Linked DNA regions of Homo sapiens: region 2 is linked to region 1. Evidence: promoter capture Hi-C in 16 types of primary human blood cells and fetal thymus (Javierre and others, 2016). All regions are on one chromosome and are shown on one strand. Each heading gives the region's core, a stretch centred on a gene start or on the middle of the fragment in contact. The rest is flanking DNA. Distances are from core to core; before and after follow the strand shown.

Region 1 (4,050 bases), core at 870-3,369:
AACGTCTCAGATCATCGTGGGTCTTGACATCCTCCAATTCTATCTGTTGTACCTGCTACAGATTTCTGGCATCTGTTGTCTCCATTTCCAGGGCCTCAGCCCTGGTCAAGGCTCCCATCATCACATGTCTAGGGGTTTATTTGTTCTGGATTCCTTTTTGCTGTCCCTACCCCAGAGTCCTCTGCCTTAGTTTCCATGCACACTGCTTGAGCCGCCTGCTGCAAGACCCCCACCCGACCATCTGCTGGAGGGCTTTCTCTGGTGTTTGTGCTGGTAAGATTGGAGGTTCAGCGGGAGTTAATGTCCAACAGGAAGCAGACAGGTCATGGAAGATAAATACCCCAGTATTCATGCTCCTTGGGTGGGGTGACTCTGAGGTGCGTTCTGCACCATTTTCCAGGGGATTTTGGGGATCAGCCCCGGTTGTCTGAACTCAAACCCTGCTCATGAACTCATCTGTCCTTGCCTCTCTTTCTTTTCTTTCTCTTTCTTTTCTTTCCTTCCTTCCTTTTTCTTTCTTTCTTTCTTTTTCTTTCTCTCTTTTTCTTTCTTTTCTTTCTCTTTCTTTCTTTCCTTCTTTTTCTTTCTCTTTCTTTCTTTTTCTTTCTTTCTTCTTTCTTTCTTTCTCTCTCTCTCTCTCTCCCCCTCCCCTCCCCTCCCCTCCCCTTCCCTCTTTTTATCACAGAGTCTCACTCTCTTGCCCAGGCTGGAGTACAGTGGCATGATCTCAGCTCACTGCAACCTCTGCCTTCTGGGTTCAAGCAATTCTCCTGCCTCAGCCTCCTGAGCAGCTGAGATTATAGGTGCACGCCACCATGCCAGGCCAATTTTTTTTTTTTTTTGTATTTTTAGTAGAGACGGGGTTTCACCATGTTGGTCAGGCTGGTCTCTGCTGAGACCAGCTTGGCTGGGGAGACCCTAACCCAGCAGCACTAGAGGAATTAAACACACACACACACACACACACACACACACACACACACAGAGAAATAAAGAGGTGTGAAGTGGGAAATCAGGGGGTCTCACAGCCTTCAGAGCTGAGAGCCTCAAACGGAGATTTACCCACGTATTTATTAACAGCAAGCCAGTCATTAGCATTGTTTCTATAGATATTAGATTAACTATAGATTAGATTAGATTCCCATAGAAGTATCCCTTATGGGAAACAAAGGGATTGGGCCCAAATAAAGGGATGTGTTTGGCTAGTTATCTGCAGCAGGAGCATGTCCTTAAGGCACAGATCACTCATGCTCTTGTTTGTGGTTTAAGAACGCCTTTAAGCAGTTTTCCGCCCTGGGTGGGCCAGGTGTTCCTTGCCCTCATTCCGGTAAACCCACAACCTTCCACCGTGGGTGTCATGGCCATCACGAACATGTCACAGTGCTGCAGAGATTTTGTTTATGGCCAGTTTTGGGGCCAGTTTATGGCCAGATTTTGGGGGCCTGTTCCCAACAGGTCTCAAACTCCTGACCTCGTGATCTGCCTGCCTCGGCCTTCCAAAGTGCTGGGATTACAGGTGTGAGCCACTGTGCCTGGCCCCTTGCCTCACTTTCTGACTTCCTATGGATGCTTGCAGGGCCCACTCCCCAAATAAACTCATCACCCTTCAATTTTTTTTCTTTGTTTAGAGATAGGGTCTTGCTCTGTCACCCAGGCTTGAGTGATCCTGGCTCACTGCAACTTCTATCTCCTGGGCTCAAGCGATTCTCCCACTTTAGACTCCTGAGTAGTTGGGACTACAGGTGTGCATGACCAAGGCTGGTTAATTTTTTTCTTTTTTTGTTTTTTTGTAAGACAGGGTCTTGCTATGTTGCCCATGCTGGTCTCAAACTCCTGGCCTCAAGCGATCCTCCTACCTTGGCCTCCCAAAGCATTGGGAATCCAGGCATGAACCCCGTTCCTAGGCGGCACTTGATTCCTGTTCCAAGATCTGGGGAAATCCGACCCGAAGGAAGCTTTGCTCTAAGACCTCCTTGGCCGTGTTGGGCTCAGACGTGGACTGAGGTTTCAGAGGAAGCAGTGGAGCGGCAGGAGCCAGGTAAAGGCAGTGGGTCACTGGCGGCAACCGGGTCCCCATGGTAACTTGGTCCCCACCCTGTGGCATCTGTGAGGTCACCCTGCTTCTCCCAGCTGGAGTAGGTGGGGGAGGCCAGACATGGAGGCCCTTCCTCCAGTCAGATCCAGCCTTTTGGGGATCCTGTTGCAGGTTACGAGGCTCTCAGTGCTGGTGAGTGGGGGCTGGGGGTAAGTGGGGTGGGGACCACACACCAGGCCCTTCACAGAGCCACCTCAGAGCTGCCGGGCCCAAGCCCTGCCTGTCCCATCCAGTGGAACGAGGTGGCTGCCTGCCTTCCAGAATAATCTGACATCTCCCAGAAGCCCCACTCCAAACTACAGTGCTGACATTTTCTTTTCTTTTCTTTATTTAGAGACAGGGTCTCGCTCTGTCGCCCAGCCTGGAGCGCAGTGGTGCCGGCTCAGCTCGTTGCAGCCTCCAACTCCCGGTCTCAAGCAATCCTCCCCCCTCAGCCTCCAAGTAGCCGGGACTATAGGTGTGCACCACCACGCCTGACTAATTTTTGTATTTTGTAGAGATGGTGTCTCACTACGTTGCCCAGGCGGGTCTCCAACTCTTGGCCTCACATGATCCTCCTACCTCAGCTTCCTGAGGTGCTGGGATTATAGGTGTGAGCCACCGCACCTGGCAGCATTTTCTCTATTGAGGGTCACTCCTATGGGTGAATCATTGTTTTTCCCATTCATTTTTTCTTTTTTTTGAGACAGAGTCTCGCTCTGTTGCCCAGGCTGGAGTGCAGTGGTGCGATCTCGGCTCACTGCAACCTCTGCCTCCTGGGTTCAAGCAGTTCTTCTGCCTCAGCCTCCCAAGTAGCTGGGACTACAGGCACGTGCCATCATCCCTGGCTAATTTTTTTTTTTTTTTGTATTTTTAGTAGAGACCCTGTTAGCCAGGATGGTCTCGATCTCCTGACCTTGTGATCTGCCCGCCTCAGCTCCCCAAAGTGCTGGGATTACAGACATAAGCCACTGCGCCTGGCTCATTCATCTCTCTCTCTTTTTTTTTTTTTCAGATGCAGTCTTGCCCTGTCGCGCAGGCTGCAGTGTAATGGTGCGATCTCGGCTCACTGCAACTTCCACCTCCAGGTTCAAGCAATTCTCCTGCCTCAGCCTTCCAAGTAGCTGGGATTACAGGCGTGCGCCACCACGCCCAGCTAATTTTTTGTATCTTTAGTAGAGACAGGGTTTCACCGCATTGGCCAGGCTGGTCTCAAACTCCTGACCTCGTAATCCACCCACCTCGGCCTCCCAAAGTTCTGGGATTACAGGTGTGAGCCACCGCACCTGGCCCATTCATCTCTTTTAAACATACACATGCTTGTGGTCGGGGTCACAACTCAGTCACACTTAGGAGGCCGAGGTGGGAGTATAGATTGAGCCTGGGAGGCCAAGGCTGCAGTCAGCCAAGATCATATAACAGGGGGCAGTTGAGAAAGACAGACACCATTAGATTTGCATCTTGGGACCGGGAGCTGTGGCTCACACCTGTAATCCCAGCACTTTGGGAGGCCGAGGCGGGCAGATCACCTGAGGTCAGGAGTTCCAGACCAGCCTGACTAACATGAAGAAACCTTGTCTCTACTAAAAATACAAAATTAGCCACGCGTGGTGGTGCATGCCTGTAATCCCAGCTACTCAAGAGGCTGAGGCAGGAGAATCGCTTGAACCTGGGAGGCGGAGGTTGCGGTGAGCCGAGATCCCACCATTGCACTCCAGCCTGGGCAACCCTGGGCAACAAGAGCAAAACCCTGTCTCAGAAAAAAAAAAAAAAAAAAAAAAAAAAAGATTTGCATCTTGGCTGTTTTACCCTCTAGCTGTGTGAATTTGGGCAAATCACTTCACCACTCTGAGCCCGTTTCCTCTCCTATAGAAATGATCTTGTGGGATCATGTGGGATATCATAGGTTTCCCTCCTCCCTGGTCTCAGCACCATAACCTGGGAGGTCCTATTTCCTAGCTCTACCCTAATTCTTC
Region 2 (4,050 bases), core at 1,095-3,594, 49 kb before region 1:
TTCCTGGTATCCTCAGTTCCGGGCGTGGCGTGTCCCTCCGTGTGAGTGACGGTGGGAAGGTGAGGTGAGAGTGGCCAGGGCGGGGTGGAACTGTTTTCTCTCGGCCCGTCCAGGTTGGCTGCTTTTGGGTAATTCCCAGGCTCTGAGATGTCACAGAGCCAGGACGGGAGGAGTGAGTCACCCCCACCATTCCGCCATTGCCCTGGAGAAGCTTCTTCCCTGTCCCCAGGGCCCGGTTTCACTGGGAGCCATAAAAAGGCCCTGCCCAAGCTTGGTTTCTTCCGTTTTCAGCCGGACCTGCTGAAACCAAGCCTGGGGGCTGCCTGGGAGCGTGCCAAGGGCACTGCCCAGATGGGGCCCAGCCCAGAGGGAAACCAGCCCAGCAGGGACCCAGCTCCAGCTAAGGCCAGAAACCAGAGCCCACCCTTGGGGGCTGTTCTGTTCCTGGTCTCATCTGGTTTATACATATATATATATACACATACATATATATATATATACACACACACATACACATACATATATATATATACACACATACACACATATATATATATATATATACACACACACATACATATATATATATATATATATATTTTTTTTTTGACACAGTGTCGAGCTCTGTCGCCCAGGTTGGGGTGCAGTGGCATAATCTTGGCTTAGTTCAACCTCTGCCTCCCAGGTTCAAGTGATTCTCCTGCCTCAGCCTCCTGAGTAGCTGGGACTACAGGCATGCACCACCATGCCCTGGCTAATTTTTGTATTTTTAACAGAGATGGGTTTTCACCATTTTGGCCAGGCTGGTCTCGAACTCCTGACCTCAAGTGATCCGCCCACCTTGGCCTCCCAAAGTTCTGGGATTACAGGCATTAGCCACCGCGCCTGGCCACATCTGGTTTATATCTTAAGCCCCTCTGCCCACCAGGAGCCCCTTCCCCTGCAGGACTATGCCCCAGGCCCCCTCCACTCCCAGACTCCCCTCTGTAAGCTCCCCTTTCTTCCCTGAGCCCCATTCCTCTCCAAGAGCCCCCTCCCCTATCTGAAGCTCCTCTTCTCCTGGAGACCCTTCCCCTCCCAGTTCCCCCGCACCCCCTCCCTCCACTGCCCCTCCCTCTTAAAGTCCCCTACCCTTCTGTCCTGTCACTTCCCTGCCCTCTCGCTCCCTGGGGTGGGAGGGCCTGGCTTGGCGAGGCGGCTAAGAGAGGGGAAGGGGCTCAGGGTGGGGGCAGGGCATGTCTGGGGTCTGCCAGCTTGTCTTGGCCTGGCTGGCTCTCTATTCCATTATGAACATGTGGCTGGGGTTTCTGCCATCCTCCCAGGCCCTGGTGGGGTGGTTGGGGCTGAGAGGGTGATGGGGAGGGGAGGAGGAAGGGGCCGCAATGCCAATCACATCACCCCAGGGGCTCAGAACAGCTCCCGCCTCTCCTCCTCCTCCCCTTCTTTCTCGCCCCCACCCCCCTCCCCACCTTCCAGAGCCCATTAGCCCAGGGCTGCAGTGACACCTGCCTCCACTGGGGATCCTCCCCTACTCCTGGGGCCATAGCTGCTCCCCCAAGGGTGGGTTACCCTCTTGCCTTTTGACCTTCCCAGGGACCTGGCAGTCCTGCCCCTGGGTGGCCACCTCTTCAGCCTCTCCCAGAGCCTTGGCCACACTTGCTGTGCCGTCCGCAAACACCCAAGGGGGCACCGTGCCCAGTCCAGGAATCAGGCAGCCATCACCTTCCCAGCCAGACCCTGGGAAGGATAGACCCACAGCCTTAGCCATATACAGAGCACTGGGCAACTTTTACTTTTCACCATGATGAGCAACTTGTCAAAAGAATTTGCAAACAGACAGGTGCGGTGGCTCCCGCCTGGGATTATAGGAGGCTGAGGCGAGGGGATCACCTGAGATCAGAAGTTCCAGACCAGCCTGGCCAACATGGTGAAACCCCATCTCTACTAAAAATACAAAAATTAGCCAGGTGTGGTGGCGTGTGCCTGTAATCCCAGCTACTCGGGAGGCTGAGGCAGGAGAATCACTTGCACCCAGGAGGCAGAGGCTGCAGTGAACTGAGAGCTTGCCACTGCACTCCAGCCTGGATGACAGAGCAAGACTCCGTCTCATTAAAAAAAAGAAGAAGAATTTCCAAATCCTACCTCTGGCTCACCATTAAAACAGCCAATTTGGGGGTGTTTGGGGCAGCCGGTTACAATTCTCCCTCTCTACCCCTCCACCTGCCACTAGCACAGGTGCGATTTTCAAAATTCCCATCAACGGGTGTGGGACACCCTGGATGCTGCAGTTCCCACAAGCAAACAGGCGAGGGCGACTCTAGGGAGAGTCACCGCGGCCGTGGGCTGGCCCAGCCTTGAGGAGAGCATTGACACACAGCGTTTGCCAGAACCATGGCCAGGGACGCTGCCTACTTGCTGGAGGTCCCTGCTCCTTCTGGACAGGGATTTATGGTTGGGTGCATTGCTTAGAATAGGAATTAGCTACCATTTGACTGACTTTTTGGTTTTTTGCTTTTTTCCCCATCTACGTCAAGTTCACTGACTTCATTATCTCTATTCTACTTTTGAGCTCATTCAAGGTTTTGTTGTATTATTATTATTATTTTAGAGGGAATCTCACTCTGTCGTCCAGGCTGGAGTGCAGTGGTGCGACCTCAGCTCACTGCAACCTCTGCCTCCCTGGTTCAAGCGATTCTCCTGCTTCAGCCTCCTGAGTAGCTGGGATTACAGGCACCCACCACCACGCCCGGCTAATTTTTGTATTTTTAGTAGAGACGAGGTTTCACCATGTTGGCTAGGCTGATCTTGAACTCCTAACGTCAGGTGATCCACCTGCCTTGGCCTCCAAAGTGCTGGGATTACAGACTTGAGCCACCGTGCCCAGCCTGGCTTTGTTTTATCATTGCGGTTATTATATTGTTCAGTTCTAAACTTTATTTAAATTTTTTTATTTTCATTTATTTATTTATTTTTTATACAGGGTCTTGTTCTGTCACCCAGGCTGGAATGCAGTGGTGCAGTCATGGCTCACTGCAGCCTCCTTCTGGGCTCAAACAATCCTCCCATCTCAGCTTCCCGAGTAGCTGGGACCACAGGCACAAGCCACCATGCCTGGCTAATTTTTAATTTTTTTGTAGATATGGGGTCTTGCTTTGTCACCCAGGCAGGTCTTGAACTGCTGGACTCAAGAGATCTTCCTGCCTTTGCCTCCCAAAGTGCTAGAATTACAGACATGTAAAATTTCTGTTTGGGGCTGGGTGCAGTGGCTCATGCCTGTAGTCCCAGCACTTTGGGAGGCCGAGGCGGGAGGATCTCTTGAGACCAGGAGTTTGAGACCAGCCTGGGCAACATAGCGAGACCTCATTTCTACAAAAAAATAAAATATTGACAGTGTGGTGGCTCATGTCTGTAGTCTTGGCTACTCTGGAGGCTGACGTGAGAGGATCACTTGAACCTGGGAGGTCGAGGCTGTAGTGAACTATGATCATGCCACTGTACTCCAGCCTGGGTGACAGAGGGAGACCCTGTCTCAAAAGAAAACAAAAAATTGTTTGGCTCTTCTTTACATCTTCTCTTCTTTGCAAAGACTTTCTATATTTCCATTGATTTCAAGAGTGTTGGCCTTTCTTGCAACATTTTGATAATAATTGCTTTAAAGTCTTGATCTGATATTTCCAATGTTTTGTCATCTCAACATTGACCACTGTTGATAGTCTTTTCTCCTGTGAGTTGAAATTCTCCCGGCTCTTTGTATGCTGAGTAATTTTGGAGTGTCTCCAAGATATTTTAAATATTAGGATATAGGAATCTGGATCTTTATACAATTCTATGGAGAATGTTGATATTTTTGTTTTAGCAGGCTGTGGTTTTTTTTTTTTTTTTTTTTTTTGGACATGCTGGACCTAGGAACCCTGAATTTCCACTACCTTGCTGTGTCTCCACACCCTTATCACAGCCCTGCGTCATCTCAGGCAGCTCTGACCACCTCCTGAATGTCCATGGCCTGACCAGAAGCCCTTGGAGAACTGCCCTATGGGTTTCTGAGTTCCT

Evidence for each region. Contacts are between HindIII fragments. The CHiCAGO score rates a contact against its expected background, and 5 or more counts as called.
Region 2: a fragment that was not itself captured here is called in contact with the fragment with the promoter of TMEM270 in region 1 in 1 of 17 cell types (erythroblasts); the score reaches 5.0 in erythroblasts.

The regions. Positions count from the first base shown.
Region 1 is chr7:73,859,040-73,863,089 of GRCh38, forward strand. It overlaps TMEM270 (transmembrane protein 270), which reads left to right and starts at 2,120. Exons shown (of 3, transcript NM_182504.4): 1 at 2,120-2,227. The coding sequence starts at 2,156. The HindIII fragment of the contact is 5,367 bases long and covers 1,954-4,050 here.
Region 2 is chr7:73,809,577-73,813,626 of GRCh38, forward strand. No RefSeq gene overlaps it. Among named protein-coding and RNA genes, the nearest start is that of CLDN4, 19 kb to the right of the region's middle. RefSeq lists a silencer at 2,311-2,420. The HindIII fragment of the contact is 4,153 bases long and covers 269-4,050 here.